Linked DNA regions of Homo sapiens: region 2 is linked to region 1. The links are contacts of gene promoters, found by promoter capture Hi-C in blood cells and fetal thymus (Javierre and others, 2016). All regions are on one chromosome and are shown on one strand. The core of a region is centred on a gene start or on the middle of the fragment in contact, and the rest is flanking DNA. Distances in the headings are between cores, read along the strand shown. Region 1 holds the start of ARAP1-AS2 (ARAP1 antisense RNA 2). Region 2 overlaps LOC107984421 (a long non-coding RNA gene).

What was found. The method cuts DNA at HindIII sites, captures the fragments that hold promoters and counts their contacts. A CHiCAGO score of 5 or more calls a contact.
Region 2: a fragment that was not itself captured here is called in contact with the fragment with the promoter of ARAP1-AS2 in region 1 in 5 of 17 cell types (megakaryocytes, M0 macrophages, M2 macrophages and 2 more); the score reaches 7.4 in megakaryocytes.

Annotation. Positions count from the first base shown.
Region 1 is chr11:72,698,209-72,702,822 of GRCh38, reverse strand. It overlaps ARAP1-AS2 (ARAP1 antisense RNA 2), which reads right to left and starts at 2,349. Exons shown (of 2, transcript NR_146780.1): 1 at 2,270-2,349. It overlaps ARAP1 (ArfGAP with RhoGAP domain, ankyrin repeat and PH domain 1), which reads left to right. Exons shown (of 35, transcript NM_001040118.3): 16 at 1,040-1,174; 17 at 3,271-3,406; 18 at 3,716-3,818. RefSeq lists a silencer at 1,704-1,803. The HindIII fragment of the contact is 37,247 bases long and covers 1-4,614 here.
Region 2 is chr11:72,809,208-72,813,821 of GRCh38, reverse strand. LOC107984421 (a long non-coding RNA gene) reads left to right here. Exons shown (of 3, transcript XR_007062771.1): 1 at 1-1,189. Among named protein-coding and RNA genes, the nearest start is that of ATG16L2, 2.9 kb to the left of the region's middle. RefSeq lists a silencer at 169-258 and enhancers at 799-928, 1,089-1,148. The HindIII fragment of the contact is 2,240 bases long and covers 801-3,040 here.

The DNA.
Region 1 (4,614 bases), core at 1,100-3,599:
TCGCAGCTCCTCAAGGGCCTGTGATAAATCATGTGTGAGCTGGGGTGTGCTTGGGTTTGCATGTCAGTGTGTATTTGTACTACGTATGCATGTTCCTCTGTGTCTGTGTCTCTGTGACTGTTGATGACTTCCCTGACTTGCAGTGTGGGCCCCTCAGGATGGCTGGCAGCTGTGCTGGTGTTTGTGCGCCTCTGAGCCCCCCGGATTTGTGTTTCTGGGGATGCTGAGAGCTTTGGAGTACATGCGTGTGCAGAGTGTGTCTGTGTTGCTGCGTGAGGGGTGCTGAGTTACATTTCTCCATGGGTGGGTCACCCACCTAGGCAGCCCTGTCTACTGCCCTGCTTGGGTGGAGCTCAATCCTGAACTTGGTTTGGGTACCATTGGCTCCCTCTTGGGGTGGGTGAGGAGGGGTCAGTGGGCTGAGCAGCACAGCTCGTGGCCCAGGCCTGGACTCTGGGGCCACATCCCAGGACTGAGGGTGGAGCTCAATGGCTGGGGCTCTGGGCTCAGGGCCATGGGTGGGCGGGGCACACTGGGCTGGAGAGAGCCCAGGTGTCCAGGGAGACACAGGAGACCACCCAACTGGCTTGGGCTTGGGGACAGATCACCGCCCCCCCACGGCGCTGACCGTGGGGAACAGGGCTGTAGTCAGGCTGCCACCTTGAGCTTCCCGCTGTCTGGGACAATCCTCTTTCCAGGGATTATTATTGAGTTTGCCCAATGCCCCCCTCATGCCAGTGTGCCTGGCCTATGCCTCCAACCTGGAGAGTGGGGTGGGGCAGGAATCAGGGAGGCTTCCTGGAAGGGGAGGTGCTGGAACTGGGCCTTGGGAGTGGAGTGAATTTCCACAAGTGGGGAGAGGTGGAGAAACAGCCTGGACAAGACCCTGCAGGTAGGAGGGGGAGCTTGAGGCTGCCAGTTAGGGAGCTGGGGCTGATGATTCGAAAGTGAGCCTGAATGCCCAGGCCAGGTGGGAGTGAGGTGGGGACACCCTCTTGGGTGGCCAGCATGACCTGCCATCCTTTCCCCGCCTACAAAGAGGTGCCTCGGCTGGACTCGATGAAGCCCCTGGAAAAGCACTACTCAGTTGTCCTGCCGACCGTGAGCCACAGTGGCTTCCTCTACAAGACTGCCTCTGCCGGCAAGCTGCTACAGGACCGCCGGGCCCGGGAAGGTGGGTGCCACCCCAGACTCTGCTTTAGCCCATGGCATCTGGTCACGGCTGCAGGGCTAGGGAAGCCAGGGCTGGCCAGACTGGTGGACTCTGGCAGAGTCACCCTAGAGGGCTTCCTGGATATAGTCTGTGGTACACAGTAGGTACTTCCTAAATGATCCTGGTGGGAGTGGGGGTAGTGCATGACACTGCAGAGCAGGTCAGTGCCAGAGTTTCTTTGGACTAAATGAGCCTTTATTGAGCCCCTACTGGATATGGGCTCTGCTGAGCATCTGGTAGTAAGAGCCTGTGGCTGGTAGGGAGTTTGAGGACTGAACGAAAGCCCTATCCATCTGATCTCAGCCTTCCATTCACTCCCCAACTCAGAAGAAAATCCACAAGAGCCCGCACAGTTGGCCACCACCCCCATTACCTCTCTGAACCACCCCCCTAATCACTCTGCCGGTCTCCTCACTGTTTCTCAGACACGTCGTCACCTACCAGGATCTTTGCCTGTGCTGTTCCCTCTGCCTGAAATGCATTCCCCCAGGTATCTGCATGGCCAGTCCCTCACTTCCGTCAGGTCTCTGTTTCAGTATCACTCCTGCAGAGATGTCATCTCTGACTACCTTATGCAAAATAGCACCCCCCATCTCTCCCTTTACCCTTTTGAGATGGAGTTTCGCTCTTGTTGCCCAGGCTGGAGTGCAATGGCGCGATCTTGGCTCACCGCAACCTCTGCCTCCCGGGTTCAAGCAATTCTCCTGCCTCAGCCTCCCGAGTAGCTGGGATTACAGGCATGCGCCATCATGCCTGGCTAATTTAGTTAGTAGAGATGGGGTTTCACCATGTTGGTCAGGTTGGTCTCAAACTCCCGACCTCAGGTGATCTGCCCGCCTTGGCCTCCCAAAGTACTGGGATTACAGGCGTGAGTCACCACGCCTGGCTACCCTGCATTTTCTTCACACCACTTACCTGGTACTCATTTGTCCATTAATGTACTTATCTATAGATTCTCTGTACCCCACTGGGACATAAACTCCTTTTGGCCACCACTGCCTGTAGCCCCCAGATCCTAGAACAGTGGCTAGCACACAGTGGGCACTTGGCAAATACCTGCAGAATGAAGGATGACTCAGGCAGAGCTGGTGCTCCTGGAGGGAGCCCACCTGCGGGGACAGGCCTGAGGACACATTGCTCTCAAAGAGCACATGTCAGGCCCTCACAGACAGGATGAGAGACAGAGTCTGCTGTGGGAACATTGTGAGGTCATTGCTGACAACATCCCTCAGCACCTCCTGCATGCTTTCCTACGGGGACAAAGCCCTCCAACTCCCAAAGAGATTTCTTTGGAACTCCATGCTGTTCACAACCTCATTGCCCCAGGTCTGCCTCCCTCTGCCTGACAATGTCATTTATGTAACAACTGCCTGAGTCATCCTTTTTGCCCTGGATGCCAGGAAGCTCTGAGCCACTGTAAAGCTCAGTGCTGTGAACGGTACAAGCCTGCATGGCCATGACAGCCTATCCTTTCCATTACCTTTCCTGGTCCAGATTCCCATTTCTGTTTCTTTTATGGGACCTTGCCAGTCCTTCAGAGCCATTGTAGCAGGAGGCAGAGTACAGAGTGATAGATGCTTCTGGAAAAGGAGGTTGGGGCATAGAAGGCTTCCTGTGACATTCAGGTGGTGGGTAGAGGGGACAAGGTTTGCAAAAGCTGGGAGTGCTGGGTAGGGATGTGTGTGTCCAGGAGTGACAGAGAGGCAGCTGGAGAGACGGGCAGGGGTAGACCTGGCAGGGCCTTGAATGGCAGGCTGAGGGGCACAGAGTCTGTCCTGAGGACCATGGAATGGTTTTGGTTAGAGGAAGGATGGGGTCTGATTTTAGCTAGATCACTCTGGGATTTTGGAAGGGGCTGCTGCAGAGGCCTGGGGGAGCGGATGACTTGTGGGCTGGCTAGCGTGGTGGGGATGCAGAGAGGTGGATGGATTTAGGGAAAACTTGAGAGAATGAAGAGCTCATGGGTCAGATGGGAGCAGGAGCCCCGGGAGGATGCAGAGGTGGTTTTCAGGTGGTGGGGGGCTCCCTGATGGCTCCCCTGCCCAAATTCTCCCCAGAGTTCAGCCGGCGCTGGTGTGTCCTTGGTGACGGGGTCCTGAGCTACTTTGAGAATGAGCGGGCAGTGACCCCCAATGGAGAGATTCGGGCCAGCGAGATTGTGTGCCTGGCAGTGCCCCCTCCTGACACCCATGGGTGAGTACTCCTGGGCAAATCAGACTGTGGTTGCTATAAGGTACAATCCCCCACTGGGGAGACAGGGAAATAGACCCAGAGAAGGGGAGGACCTCCGCAGAGTCACACAGCAAACGGAGGCTGCACAAGGGCCGACTCCAGTCTCTTGAGGCCCCAGCCCAAGACTTTTCCACCACCTCTTAGGGGACCAGAATAAGGACAAGCGCCAAGGCAGTGCGGAGGGGGCAGAGGATGGCGGTTGATGGTGCGGGTTGGGGGTGGGCCCGTGCTGGATGAGGTGGGCCTGAGTCCTGGCCTGTGTATTTGCAGCTTTGAGCACACCTTTGAGGTGTACACGGAGGGAGAACGGCTGTACCTGTTTGGGCTGGAGAGTGCGGAGCAGGCTCATGAGTGGGTCAAGTGTATTGCTAAGGTGAGCCTGGGGTAGCAGGGTGGGTGTAAGGGTGTCTGACTGGGGAAGGTGGGGCCTCCTGGCCAATCCCATGTATCCCAGCTCCCCCGTCTAGAGAGCAGAAGCTAGATGCAGGGCAGCAGACATGGAGCGGGCCTGTCCCACCAAGAGCCTACTGTAATCTGCAGCCCTCTGCGGAGTTGGTCAGACCTATCCTAGCTCTGCAGAAGAAGGGCTGTGGGCCTTGCACTCCATAGGTGCTCAATAAGTGTTTAACAGTGAATGACAGTCAGAGCCATCTTAGGATGGACAGTGCGGCCTCCAGAGGGGGTGTGCTCCTCGTTCCTGGAGGCGAGCAAGCAGAGGCTGGAGGGAAGAGGCAGGGAGGCCACCGGGAGAGCTCTGCCTCGGGGACTAGAGCCAGGTGCCTGTGGGGTCCCCTGTGCTGTGAGAGCCTGTGACTTTTTATCATTCACTTCTCCGTTGATCAGTTGTCTTGTGCGCCTCCTGAGAGTCAGCCCTCGGAGACCTGGGACCCAGATGAACCAGGCTTAGTCCTAGCTCTTCAGTAGCACCCATGTGGGTGGGGGAGACAGCTCCCCTGCGGGTGTAGTTCAGGCGGCAGCAGCAGTGTAACCAGTGCCACAACAGAGGGCAAGAATGCTTTGGTGCTGTGGGGGCCCAGAGAAGGGCCCTCCAGAAGGTGTCTGGGAAGGCTTTCCAGAGGCGGGCACATCTGAGTGGGTATGAAGTGGGGCATGGTACCCAAGTTCCATCACTGGGCTTGGTTCTGCCTTGGGGAAGAGAAGAGAAGGCA
Region 2 (4,614 bases), core at 671-3,170, 110 kb before region 1:
AGCACGTGCAGAGGTTCCGTGACACGAAAACGCCAGGTGGGTGCGGGGCTGGGAGGACAGGAGGCAGAAGGGTTTACGGCTCCACATGGTCGCCGAAATTTTAGGTCCCTGAGAGTAAAGGGGTGCAGCTGATTTCATCTAGAAAGCCCCTGGCCGGGAGGAGAGAACGAGCTTGCTTGCCTGGGGTTGCAAAGGAGTGGGTAGCTGAGACGGCCAGCACCCCAGCATCCTGACTCAGGGCCAGACGCTTCACCCCATTGGGCGGCGTCTGGAGGAGCAGACACATCTCTTGTGGGTACCCTCGAAAGTGAATCATGGGTCGCAGGGAACTGTGGTCAAACCGTCTCTAGCTAGATGCTAGAGAGCCAGCTCTGCAGGCTCAGGCTACTGTGAGACACGAAAGGAGGGACTCGCTGGGCACAGCCTCACCCTGGGGCATGCCAGCAGGCCCTGCCCTCTGAGTGTTGGCAGACTTGAACATCCCTAGGGAACGAGAGAAGTTGGGCAACGATGGGAGAGCAGTGCAGGCCCTGGAGGTGACGAGTCTGTTGAGATTCTGATGGGGATGGGTCAGAGGACGTAGAAAGCAGTGAAGGCCTAGACGCCCCCAGGTCAGTGTAGCCTGCTCTGCTTCCAGTGAGCTGGGCTCAGTCCCCCACATGTCATTGTCTTAGACGCCCATGGCCTTTGCACAGGCCGAGCCTGATGTTTGGAACATCGTCGCCTCTAGGGGGCCTGGCTCCTAATCATGCATCACCTCCTCCAGGAGAACTTTCCTGCCCCTACACTGAGTTCAAGCTTCTCAGACACCAGCCCCAGTTGAGTTCGAGTTATAACCGTCACCAGTTATCACACCATCCTGTAATCTGTGCGGTGCCCCTTAGGGCAGGACCTGGGTCCTAGATGTCTCTGTACCTCTAGCCCCAAACCAGGCCTGACCTGTCTCTTGAAGGAGTATTTGTGTTGAAGATGGGTGGTAACGTTCAGCAAAAGCCATGCCCAGGAGACAGGCACAGTACCCATGGAGACCCAGGGCCAGCTGATGACAGTGATGAATTCCCTTTAGAACTGGCGGACTCTTGGGTGCTTGGAGACACTATATAAATAAGGAACTCTGGCTGTGTGCATGGGAGAGTATATTAACAGGGCTTGGCCTGGCTGTGAGGTGCAGAGATGCCGTTTCTCTCAGGTAAGGAGCCATATTGGGGCAGGGGTTTCCTAATCCTTTTTTGACTCACAAAATACACCTAGGAAATGTTAAATAAATAGTCATTTTTGAGTAGTATATGATAAAGAAGTGATTGATTTTGACTAAAAATATTCATGTTCTATTTTTAGAATATGAAAGATTGTATTATAAAGATCACTTGAAATAAAATTTTAGATAATATATGGAGACAAATTTCTGCTTTTTACATTTAACTTGCTGTTTAATGTATCTCAAATTATTTATGTAAGAGATATATGATTTGACCAATAAATATAAAAAAATGTTATACCATAATCTGGGGACCTAAAGTACTTCACTTTTTTTGTTCTGTTTTGTTTTTGAGACAGGGTCTCTCTCTGTTGCCCAGGCTGGAGTGCAGTGGCCCAATCATGGCTCACTGCAGCCTCATCCTCCTGGGATTAAATGATTCTTCCACCTCAGTCTCCCGAGTAGCTGAGACTACAGGCACATGCCACTATCGCTGGTTTTGTTGTTGTTTTGTTTTGTTTTGTTTTTTGAGACAGAGTCTCTGTTACCCAGGCTGGAGTGCAGTGGCACAATCTCGGTTCATTGCAACCGCCTCCTCCCGGGTTCAAGCGATTCTCATGCATCCGCCTTCCGAATAGGTGGGATTACAGGCATGCGTCACCACACCCAGCTAATTTTTGTACTTTTAGTAGAGACAGGGTTTCACCATGTTGGCCAGGCTGATCTCCAGCTCCTGACCTCAAGTGATCCACCCGCCTCAAGCCTCCCAAAGTGCTGGGACTACAGGTGTGAGTCACCGTGCCCAGCCGCCCAGCTCATTTTAAATTTTTCTTGTAAAGACAAGGTCTCACTATGTTGCCCAGGCTGGTCTCTAATTCCTGGGCTCAAGCAATCCTCCTGCCTTGGCATCCCAAGTGCTAGCATTACAGGCATGAGCTACTGCACCTGGCCCTAAAGTACTTAAAATGTAATTTAAAATTTGCACCTGGGAGGCCAGACACGGTGGCTCACACCTGTAATCCCAGCACTTTGGGAGGCCAAGGCAGGTGGATCACAAGGTCAGGAGTTCAAGACCAGCCTGGCCAGCATAGTGAAACCCCATCTCTACTAAAAATACCCAAAAAAAAGCCAGGCTTGGTGGTGGGCGTCTGTAATCCCAACTACTCAGGAGGCTAAGGCAGAGAATTGCTTGAATCCGGGAGGCAGAGGTTGCAATGAGCTGAGATCGCACCACTGCACTCCAGCCTGGTGACAGAGCGAGACTCCATCTCAAAAAAAAAAAAAAAAAAAAAAAAAAAAGTGCACCTGGGTTAGGCATCTCCCAGAAGCCAGAGTGATTGTTCAAAAACTTAAATCAGGCCAGGCACGGTGTCTCACACCTGTAATCCCAGCACTTTGGGAGGCCACGGTGGGCAGATCACCTGAGGTCGGGACTTTGAGACCAGCCTGACCAACATGGAGAAACCCCGTCTCTACTAAAAATACAAAAATTATCCAGGCATGGTGGCGCACGCCTGTAATCCCAGCTACTTGGGAGGCTGAGGCAGGAGAATCACTTGAACCCAGGAAGCAGAGGTTTCAGTGAGCCAAGATTGCGCCACTGCACTCCAGCCTGAGCAACAGAACAAGACTGTCTCAAAAACAAAAACAAAAATCTTAAGTCATCTCAAGTTCCTCTTGCTTAAAACCCTTGAAAGGCTCTCCAGCATAGTCAAAGCAAATACCAAACCCTTTACCATGGCCTTCAAGGCCCTGCTTGATCTGGCCCCTGCCCACATCACTGATCTTACCTCTTCCTACTCTTTAGCCTTATTCACTGCACTGAAATCCCACTGCCAAGCTTAGCCCCACCTTGGAGGCTTTGCCCTGGCTGCACCCCTCTCCTAGTGCTCTTCCTCCACAACTTTTAGAGGCTAGCTCCTACATACCAGGCAGATTTCAGAAGACCTTTCCTGTCATCCAATCTGAAAAAGCTCCCATCCCAATCAGCGTCTATCACATCACCCTTGTTCTTCCTTTCAGAGCACCTAATACTCCCAGAAAGAATCACATTTCTGTGTTTGCTAGTTGTTTATTATGTCTCTTCTACCAGGCTGGGAACTTCAGGAAAGCCAGGACCAAGTCAATCTTGATCTAGGCTCTGTCTTCAGCATCTAGAACCAGGCTTGGCACCAACTGAGTAGGTAATCCGTAAATAAATTGCTGTTGCTGTGTATCAAAAAGAAAAAACCAAAGTTTGCATGGTCCAGTGCTTAGAAGTTTTGAAATAAAAAATGTAGCTATTTTTTGGCTGGGTATAGTGGCTCACGCCTGTAATCCCAGCACTTTGGGAGTCCGAGGCGGTGGATCACCTGAAGTCAGGAGTTCGAGACCAGCCTGGCCGACATAGTGAAACCACGTCTCTACTAAAAATACAAAAATTAGCCGGGAGTGGTGGCAGGTGCCTATAATCCTAGCTGCTTGGGAGGCTGAGCGGGGAGAATCACTTGAACCTGGGAGGCAGAAGTGGCAGTGAGCTGAGATCGTGCCATTGCACTCCAGCCTGGGCGAAAGAGCAAGACTCAGTTTAAAAAAAAAAAAAGTAGCTATTTTTTAAATTGGAAAACCAATCACATGCACATAGCAAAGAATTGAAATAGTACAAAAGTGAGCCTGTTTGCCTCACACCTTCATATTGATCAGGATAGGACAGGCTGGTCTGTGGTTACAGTGATTTCTTTTTTTTTTTTTTTCTTCCAGAGATGGAGTCTCGCTCTGTCTCCCAGTCTGGAGTGCAGTGGCATGATCTTGGCAATCTGGGCTCACTGCAACCTCCGCCTCCCAGATTCAAGCAATTCTCCTGCCTCAGCCTCCCGAGTAGCTGGGACTACAGGCACACGCTGCCACACCTGGCTAATTTTTTGTATTTTAGTAGAGACAGGGTTTCACCACGTTGCCCAGGCTGGTCTCAAACTCCTGAGCTCAGGCAATCTGCTCGCCTCAGCCTCCCAAAGTGCTAGGATTACAGGCGTGAGCCACCGCACCTGGCAGTACAGTGATTTCTAATATTGCCCATGACTGTTGGCTGAACTCAACTGGTGATTCTTACTTTGAATGGCTTATGTGACTGCGATCACACCAGGACTGGAGTTACCTGAAGACTCAGCTGGGCAGGTTACTGTTGATGGCTCACTCATTTGGCTGGCAGGAGATGCCATCTATTGGCTAGAGGGTCGGAGCTGCAAACCAAAGCACCTACATGTGGCCCCTTCACATGGCTTAGGTTTCTCAGAACATGGTGGCTAGATTCTGAGAGGGAGGCATCCCAAAACATGCATCCAACAGTATGAAAGCTGCCAGTCTCTTACGGTTTGACCCTGAAATTAGAACACATCACTTCCTCTGCATTCTATTAACCAAAGCAGTCACGGACCAGC